Regions from separate parts of the Homo sapiens genome. Here region 1 is linked to region 2. Evidence: promoter capture Hi-C in human tissues and cell types (Jung and others, 2019). All regions are on one chromosome and are shown on one strand. Each heading gives the region's core, a stretch centred on a gene start or on the middle of the fragment in contact. The rest is flanking DNA. Distances are from core to core; before and after follow the strand shown. Region 1 has its middle 14 kb from the start of COX6C. Region 2 holds the start of NIPAL2 (NIPA like domain containing 2).

Evidence for each region. Contacts are between HindIII fragments. The study calls those that stand out against the background at their distance.
Region 1: a contact is called between a fragment that was not itself captured here and the fragment with the promoter of NIPAL2 in region 2, in 1 of the 25 tissues and cell types used here (mesenchymal stem cells).

What each region holds. Positions count from the first base shown.
Region 1 is chr8:99,904,862-99,910,755 of GRCh38, reverse strand. No RefSeq gene overlaps it. Among named protein-coding and RNA genes, the nearest start is that of COX6C, 14 kb to the right of the region's middle. RefSeq lists a silencer at 2,248-2,448. The HindIII fragment of the contact is 5,482 bases long and covers 1-4,836 here.
Region 2 is chr8:98,292,985-98,296,731 of GRCh38, reverse strand. It overlaps NIPAL2 (NIPA like domain containing 2), which reads left to right and starts at 2,497. Exons shown (of 11, transcript NM_001321635.2): 1 at 2,497-2,729. The coding sequence starts at 2,595. The region is part of intron 5 of LOC105375659 (a long non-coding RNA gene); the gene reads right to left. RefSeq lists a silencer at 2,258-2,977. The HindIII fragment of the contact is 9,267 bases long and covers 1-3,747 here.

The DNA.
Region 1 (5,894 bases), core at 846-3,345, 1.6 Mb before region 2:
CTACTATGTGTTATATATAACACTATATATATATATATATATATATATCACTATATATATGTGTTATATGTATAATACATATATTATGTGTATGTGTTATGTATATATAATGCATATATATTATATGTATGTACATATAATACATATATTATAGATTATATGCATGTGTTACGTATCACACATACATATAATATATATGTATATATAATAAATGAATATATAATATGCAAGTTATATATAACACATATATATGTGTGGCTAATTTTCTTTTTATTTTTGTAGAGATAGGGACTCACTATGTTGCCCAGGCTGGTCTTCAACATATATATGTGTTATATACAACACATACATATGTTATATATAACACAATGTGTTACTATGGATAGTCAGTGTTCTCTGGGGTGTGGGACACCTTTCACTGCAATATGATTTTAAGTGGTACATGGGCACTGCATTTTTTTAAATCACAAAAATTGCAAGAGGAAAAAAAGAGATAGAGGGAAAACCAGTAAATTAGAAGACATATCAACCAATTACAATGCATGGCCCTTATTTGGATCCTGATTCAAGCAGTTAAAAAAAAGACACTTGGAAATTTGAACATTGGATATTTGATGACACCAAGAGATATCATTGTTTCAGGTATGATAATGATATACTAGACAATATCTTTTAGAATATATAACGAAATATTTACCAATGAAATTATGTAATATCTGAGATTTGCTTCAAAGTGATCAGTGAGGGGAGGGGCTGGGGGATTGGGATGAAAACAAGATGCTTCATGGTTTGACTGTTGCTGCTGCTGAGTGATGGGGCCTTTCATCATACCAGTGTGTCAACTTGGCACATATTTGCAATTTTCCAAATTGAACATGTTGAATGATATAATGAAAAAGTTAATGCCTTTTTGGTACTCTTTCAATCAATCTGACTAGACCAGACTAGACTAAGTGGAAAGGCTCTAATTTTTTTTTTAACTGTTTTTTGAGAAAACAACAACAACAAAACTCCAGGCTGGAGTGCAGTGGTGAGATTGCGGCTCACTGCAGCCTCAGCCACCTGGGCCCAAGTGATCCTCCCACCTCAGCCTCCCCAGTAGTTGGGACCACAGGCGTGCACCACCACGCCTGGCTAATTTTCTTTTTCTTTTTGTAGAGATAGGGTTTCAATATGTTGCCCAGGCTGGTCTTGAACTCCTGGGTTCAACCAATCCTCCCAGCTTAGCCTCCCAAAGTTCTGGGATTACAGGCGTGAGCCACCATGCCTGGCCTAACTTTTTTTTTTATAAAGTCGAGCTCAGAGCCTTCAACTAGATATTAATAAAATTATTTGGTTTTTGGCCTGGCACAGTGGCTCATGCCTGTAATTCCAGCACTTTGGGAGGCTGAGACAGGTAAATCGCTTGAGTCCAGGAGTTTGAGATCATCCTGGGCAACATGGTGAAACCTTATCTCTACAAAAAATACAAAAAAGAGTAGCTGGGTGTGATGGTGCACACCTGTGGTCCAAGCTACTTGGGATGCTGAGATGGGAGAATCGCCTGAATCTGGTAAGCAGAGATTGCAGTGAGCCAAGATCATGCCACTGCACTACAGCCTGGGTGACAGAGTAAGATACTGTCTCAAAAAAAGAAAAATATTATTTGGTTTTCAAGTGATCCTGACATAAGTTCCGCTATGATATAAATTTTATACAAAATTTATTTTAAAAATTATTTTAAAATGTATAATTTGGTGTATGTCATTTATATATAATAAATCTTTCAAACAAAAATGTTAGTAGGTATGAACTTTATACAATGTGCTCCCATGTGCAAAAGTTGTAATTTTATTTCTCTATAACTGAACTCAGGTTAGTTCTTGTGCCCTATTTCTTCTTCAGCAACAGAAAGTATGACTAAATTCAGTCAATCCTGATTTAAAATTGGATCTTTTCTGGGGTCAGATCAGAATCCTTGTTAGAATTATGCCCCCTCCTCCTTCTCTTCTCTCTGGACTGACTGATTCTTACTCTGTTGTCAGGGAAAAACAGGGTGCCAGGTCTCCTCTGTTCCTTCACAGGGTGCAGTTTCCTGAGTCCTTCATACTATGCCTGAGCATTGGCTCCTGAAGTCTATTTTTTTCCCTTCTCACCTGCCTTCTGGCTTTGTAAGGTCCACAGCTCAATCTCAGAACCCATCTGCCTGGGGGAGAACATGGGAACTTTTAGGCTGTTCTATAGCCTTGCTATTCAAAATGTGGTCTGTGGATCAGCAACATCAGTATCACTTTGGAACTTGATAGAAATTTAGACTCTCAGGCCTCACCCCAGACCTGCTGAGTCAGAATCTGCATGACGTTAATGTTTAAGAAGCACTGCTCTGCAGCACTTGCGAGAATTGGCCTGAACCCCCTCTCTGCCACTGATGAAGCATCAAGCTCCAGCTACCTCTTCCCTGCTCCTTCTCCTCTCATCTAATTTTATTTCCCTTTGAGCAGAGAATCATGTATATTTTGGACATATTGCTTATCCTGTTTTTATAATCCTGCTTTCTGATAGACGCTTCCCTTTCCTTAAAAAGAAAAGAAAAATTTTCTCTTTCCTCAAAAAGATAAATCAGGTTGGGTCGGTGGCTCATGCCTGTAATCCAGCACTTCGGGAGGCCGAGATGGGAGGGTCACTTGAGTCCAGGAGTTTGAGACCAGGCTGGGCAATATAGTGAGGCCCCATCTTAAAAAAAAAAAAAAAAAAAAAAAAAAAGATAAATCAAAAGACATGGCTTTGAAGACTATTTGCCTGCTGTGTGGTTTAAATCACTTCAACAAGTTGATCACCCTTGAGCATAGTGTGCATGCATAGAAAGCTCTTCCTCTCAGGTGAATGGTGGAGATAGAAACTTTGGGAAATCCCAAGTTAGTGTCCCAAAATTTTGATGGCTGTATATTTTTTTAAATGAGTCAATCTAAAGAAAAATATTAAGTACATAATAGTATAGGGATGTGCAAATAATTGAAGCTTACAAAACTCTAGGTTAGGCTTCGGGCACCCTAGAACTCTCTCCTGGGGGTGCACCCATCTTTACTTGTCTTGAGTCAATCTCTCTCTCTAGAAGGCAGAGGGGGATAGCACAGGTAATTGATCCACTGAGCTTAATGCTACCAATAATGGGAATAGCTGATGATATTAAAGATACAGGAAGCTTGGAGGACAGTGTTTGTTGTTCAGGTGAGAAACAGGGGCTCTGTAGGACTCTGGGAGCTCTCTAGAGTTTGGAACTGAGCTACGTTCATACTTACTTCCACAGAAACTACCACAAAGTCTGGCATATAGTAGCCTCAGTAAACATTTGTAGAATGGGCACCTGAGACTAAAAGAAAACAGAATATTTGTGTTTCTTAAATTATTTAGAGAAAAGCTAGATATGGTCTGATTCCACTTAAAATGGAATGGCTTAAGAGGAATGAGAAGACCTAAAAGTGAAAATATAATGAAAGGAAAAAATGAAAATTAAAATATAATTCTGGATAATCTCAACATGGAAGAAAACAGGAACACCAAAACAAAATTAATGTGGTTGCTCAGGGAGTGAGTTTGGTTGAAAAGCCTATATATGGCTGGGCACGGTGGCTCACGCCTGTAATCACAGCACTTTGGGAGGCCAAGGTGGGTGGATCATAAGGTCAGGAGTTCGAGACCAGCCTGGCCAATATGGTGAAACCCCATCTCTACTAAAAATACAAAAATTAGCCAGGTATGGTGGCACGTGCCTGTAGTCCCAGCTACTCGGGAGGCTGAGGCAGAAGAATCGCTTGAACCCGGGAGGCAGAGGTTGCAGTGAGCCAAGATTGTGCCACTGTCGCCTGGGCGACACAGCAAGACTTTGTCTCGAAAGAAAGAAAGAGAGAGAGAGAGAAAGAAAGAAAGAAAGAAAGAAAGAAAAGAAAGAAGGAAAGAGAGAGAGAAAGAAAGAAAGAGAGAGAGAAAGAAAGAAAGAAAGAAAGAAAGAAAGAAAAAAGAAAGAAAGAGAAAGAAAGAAAGAAAGAAAAGAAAGAAAGAAGGGAAGGAAGGAAAGGAAGGAAGGAAGGAAGGAAGGAAGGCCTATATACAAAAGAGGAAATGAAAGCTATATGACCCAAGTTGGATATAGCAAGAATACTCACTTGTAAGAATGCCAAGAAGGCTGAGGATTGGTCTGAGGCTTGCAAATAATGCTCAAAACATTCTATTGTTTTAAATGGAAAGTATCAAACTTCTTGTATATGCAAAAGTGGACAGAAGTTTATAGTACTCATGTACTCCCACGTACTCATGATCCAGCTAAAATAGTGATTATTTTACCAGAGGGGATTTAATTATGGCCCAAAAGCCAAATCCAGCCCACTGAATGCTTTTGTAAATAAAGTTTTATTGGAACACAGTCACACTCATTTCTTTATATTTTGTCTGTGACTACTTTCACATTACAATGGCAGAGTTGAGTAGTGGGCAACACAGTTTGAGACCCCAGCCCACAGCTACTATCTGGCCCTTTATAAAAAAAAAAAGTTGTGGCTCACACCTGTAATCCTAGAACTCTGGGAGGCCAAGACAGGAGCTTGAGCCTGAGATCAGCTTGGACAACATGGCAAGACCCTGTTTCTATTTAAAAAAAAAAAAAAAAGGAAAAGAAAAGAAAAGAGAAAGTTGGTGACCTAGGTTTTATTTGCCTATGATCAACACCTTCCACTCCCATCTGCCCACCTGCCTACCCCACTTGTATTATTTTGAAGCAAATCATCATCATACCATTTGATTGGTAAATATTTCAATGTGTATTTCTATTTTTTTTAAGTGGCAGTGTCTCAATCTGACACCCAAGCTGGAGTGCAGTGGCATGATCATGGATCAGTCTAACCTCAACCTCCTGGGCTTGAGCGATCCTCCCGTCTCAGCCTCCTGAGTAGCTGGGGATACAGGTGCATGCCACCATGCCTGGCTCATTTTTTATTATTTTGTAGAGACAGGGTCTTGCTATGTTGCCCAGGCTGGTCTTGAAATTTTGGCCTCAAGTGACCCTACTGCCTGAGCCTCTCAAAGTGCTGAGATTACAGGCATGAGCCACTATGCCCTACACCTCCAGATTTTAAATGTGGCAGTGTCAGGGTGACCATACAATATTCTAACGACTGTGTCCTGCTGTCAACACAGCTACTGTTTACTCAGAAGAGCATGTGGAAGCTAAAGATATCCATGTTTGTTGAATTTGACTAGTTCACCACATCCATAAATTAAAATAAACATAAGTTCAAAGTGGAATTCCAAAGAAACTGCTAAGACATCCTTTTTTAAAAAAAATCATTTTAAAAGTCATTATCAAGTGTCCTATCTTAGAATGATAATTTGTATCTTTTGACTTTGCTGTATCCTCTTAGAAGTTAAAATAGGTATTTCCCGCTCCTCTTGTTTTTTTTTTTTTCTCATCTAGTAAACTTAAATTTTTTGCTGTCTCTGTATTCAAAATGCAGCTGAGTTTAACGTGACTCTTTCATTTAACAGCTTCATTTCATAAAGGCCATTATCAGGCCAGGTCATCTCTGTGTATAGCTTCTGTGATTGACGTCAGCCTGCTTCTGGGAAAATTGTTTTAATTAGTACTGCCTCTGAAATGCCCAAAGGAACACAAATATCTGGTACTTAGTTATTGCACAGACCTCATCATCTGAATAAATAACCTCTTTGATTCTCTAAGTAGGGGCCAGGAGGATTTATCAATTCAACTAAAAGAAACTGAAGGCTCTGGAATGATCTACTGATTTAGGAAGTGTCCTCAGTGGCTTGGGACTATCCTCTCAGCCATTAGGGACAACCACACAGGGCACACCATCGGTGCTCAGTGAACCATCCTAGGCTAATGAGTGTTATCCACTGAGATG
Region 2 (3,747 bases), core at 1,248-3,747:
AATTAGCTGGGCGTGGTGGCGGGCATCTGTAGTCCCAGCTACTCAGGAGGCTGAGGCAGGAGAATGGCGTGAACTCGGGAGGCGGAGCTTGCAGTGAGCCGAGATTGTGCCACTGCACTCCAGCCTGGGTGACAGAGCAAGACTCTGTCTCAAAAAAAAAAAAAGTGTGGACTTCATTATGGCAATAGGGAGGCTTCAAGGCATTTTAAACCAGAAAGTAACACAATCCATTTAGTATTTTGCTTGTTAGCAACTGTACAACTACTTACAATCTGGCTGATAGAAAAATACTAGAGTGGTTGTACCAGGGTTGACTGGTTCCCCTCCCCCATAACCCCATGGCATTCCCACTCATCCTGGTTGGTAGAGCTTACCTCTCACTAGGTTGGAAATACCCAAGAATCACTTTCCCAGCCTCCCTTGCTGGTAGAACATGGGCATGTGACCCAGTCCCAGCCAATGGGATCTGAGGTGAAAGGATGCCAGGAGGATTCTGGAAAAGGCTTTCCTCCCTCAATGGACAAGACCAGTACCTCAGGGATAGCAGAGCAGAAAGGTGGAAGTGACGACATAATAGAACCACATAGAGACACATTCCTCTGGAGATAGCAGATAATTATTGTTTAAGCCACTTTTATTTGGATACTCTGTTACTTGCACCCTAAAGCATGTGAAGAGAAAGAAGCATTAATGAAGTCACCAATATCAATGAATGTGATGTTATAGAAAACTTATCAGACAAGGCATGGCAGCTCACACCTGTAATCCCACCACTTTGGGAGGCCGAGGTGGGACAACTGTTTGAGGCCAGGAGTTCTAGACCAGCCTAGGAAAAATTGCGAGACCCTGTCCCTACAAAAAAATAGAAAAATATTAGCCAGGGCCAGGTGTGGTGGCTCACACCTGTAATCCCAGCACTTTGGGAGGCCAAGACAGGGGGATCACTGGAGGTTAGGAGCTTGAGGCCAGCCTGACCAACACCGTGAAACCCTGTCTCTACTAAAAATACAAAAATTAGCCGGGCTTGGTGGTGTGCACGTGTAGTCCCAGCTACTCAGGAGGCTGAGGCAGGAGCATTGTTTGAACCCAGGAGGCAGAGGTTGCAGTGAGCTGAGATTGTGCCACTGCACTGCAGCCTGGGCAAGAGAGAGAGACTCTATCTAAAAAAAAAAAAAATTAGCTGGGCATGGTGGCATGCACCTGTATGTAGTCCCAGGTGGGAGGATCACTTGGGCCCAGGAATATGAGGCTAAAGTGAGTCAAGATCACACCACTGCACTCCAGCCTGGGCAACAGAGCAAGACCCTGTCTCAAAAAATAAAATAAAATGTAATATAACAAATAGAGACCTTTTTCCTTCAGATATTTATTTGAAGTAAATCAGCCTCTTAAAATTGGGAATAGTTACCTACAATTGTTAGCTGTTCACTGAACATCTCGAGTGCTTAAGCAAGAAACTACACAATTTCTGAGACGACATGTCTTGTTTTTTCTGTATGTGAAATGACTTTTTCTCACTCTTTTCTCTCATTTGCACATTTCCCCTAAGAAACACTGAAAACTGTCCCTGCTCCCTTCTAGGCAGCAATTCTCTTTTCTTGAAGGTCTCTCTTTCATGAACTCATGGAAGTCAAAGCACATTATCTAAGAAAAACCTCAGCATTGTGTAAACAAAAGAAGGCAACTATCAGCCTTCAGGCAACAGTATAGAATCATGGTTTTTTTAAAGTGAGAAATACCCTACAGATCATTTGTGGTCACACATTAGAATTTGAATACAGGTAAAACCAGAACATCTCGTTAGAGTTCTTAAGATTAATAACAACATTTATCTTTCATCCTAAATTCATATATACAGTAGCTGGCAACTTTTCAGCAACTCCACCTGATCCCATCTGAAGCAAACCCAATCCAGTCATCGCACACTGGGGTCCTATGGCTACCACATTCCTCATTCAAGGAATATTTACTAAGGATCTATCAAGCACTGGCACTGAGATTCAATCGCTCGGATCTTTTTTTCTCATATTGCTTACAATATTTCTGGGAACTCATGACTTTTTCATATGCAATCAATTTTTAAAATATCGGTGAGAAACACTACATATGTGATAGAGGACTGGAATTGCCAGGTAGAGATGGGAGATGATAGCTGCTTTGGGTTAGTCAGTGTCTCCTCCTCTTCCATTGACTTGGACAAATGTTTACAACGGAGATGATCTGATTCTGGCCCCGACAGGCGCGGGGACCCGTTGCGGACGGCCGCGGGGATTGCCCCCTTGGGCAGTGCGGCCCCGAGGATGCAGACACTGGCCCAGCGGAAGGAGGGCGCGGTGCGAGCTGGACGGCCCCGGGAGGCCGCAGACCGCCGGGCTCCCCGAGGACACCTCGCACCGGAGGAGGAGAGGAGGCAGCGCCCGGCCAGGCTGGGAGCACCTACGGCCGCGCGGGGGCGGGAGCCAGGTGGCCTCGGCGCGCCCGCCTCGCCCGGGCACCGAGCAGGAAGTGGCTGCGGCGCGGCCTCCTCGCGGTGCAACAGGGCGGGGAGGCGGCCGCAGCCCGAGCCGGAGCCCGAGCGCCGGGAGCGAGACCTCATGGCAGCGGTGGCGCCCGCGGGCCCCGGGGACTCCGCCTCGGCCGCCCTGGACGAGCTGTCACTGAATTTCACGTACGGGGCACCAGGCGCCGGCAACGGCTCCCTCTCGGGCGACTGGTACCGCAGGAACCAGGTAAGGGCCGCCCCGCAGCCACCGCAGCCCGGTGGGGACGCGGCCAGGGCGGCTGGCTCCGGGCGCCTCTGCGCCTCGGCCGCTTTCCTGCCAGCTCTCAGGAAGACACCCGGCCTCTCCGAGTGGGAAGAGGTGACATGCAATGTTTCCCGCATTGACCTAAGTCCGCCTCATCCGGAAGCGCGGGGGTCCGCCCAGTCTTCCTCTCCCGGGCACCCGGCACTGGGAGTGGGCGCCCAGGTCTTCGGCCTTGACCTCAGCCACCCGTTCCTGGGACCTCCGGGTCCCGATCCCGCCTCCCCAGCCTGCGTCCGCCCTCTTCTCCCGGAAGGAATCTAGGAGTGTGGGGGCAATTCACTCATTTTCACCCCAGGATCCTTTTACAGTTAAAAGAAAAGAAAAAAGTGACACCCTGTTATCAGAAGCAGAAAACTCATTAAGGGCAGCCTAATGTCACCTCGCGCAGATGCCCTGCGTGTGTCCCTGGTATCTCAACACAGCTCTTCCATTTCCGTGCGAGGAACACATTTTCTCAGGTTGCATTTGCAGGACTCTCATTCTTTCCCACCGGCCCTTTGGGAAAACTTTGTTAACTTAAACAACGCCAGTTTACACTGGAAATATACATTTAACAAAATCAAAGGGACTTGGAGCCGCCCATTTATTTTTGGCTTGGTTTAAGATGAGGAAGTGTTCTGGCCAGCCCTTCCTCTAGCAGCGTTCATATTGCAACTAAGTTTTATCACGGTGGATTCCAGGCTTCCTCCTGTTTTCATTAAATGTGTTACTTTGTTCTTGTTCTTTAACAAAACCATGGATACTTTTATTTTTGCAACAATATAATCAGAAAATATTTGTTGCTGTTGTCCTAAATCGGAGAGTTTAACCAATTATCAAAGATCTGGATTCCTTTTATGCCTGAAGTGTTCTAAATATTAATTTCTGAATGCAGAAGAGAATATATTTGTATAAAGAATAAGTAAGATAAATAAGCATGTTCACTTTATTAGTTTTCAAG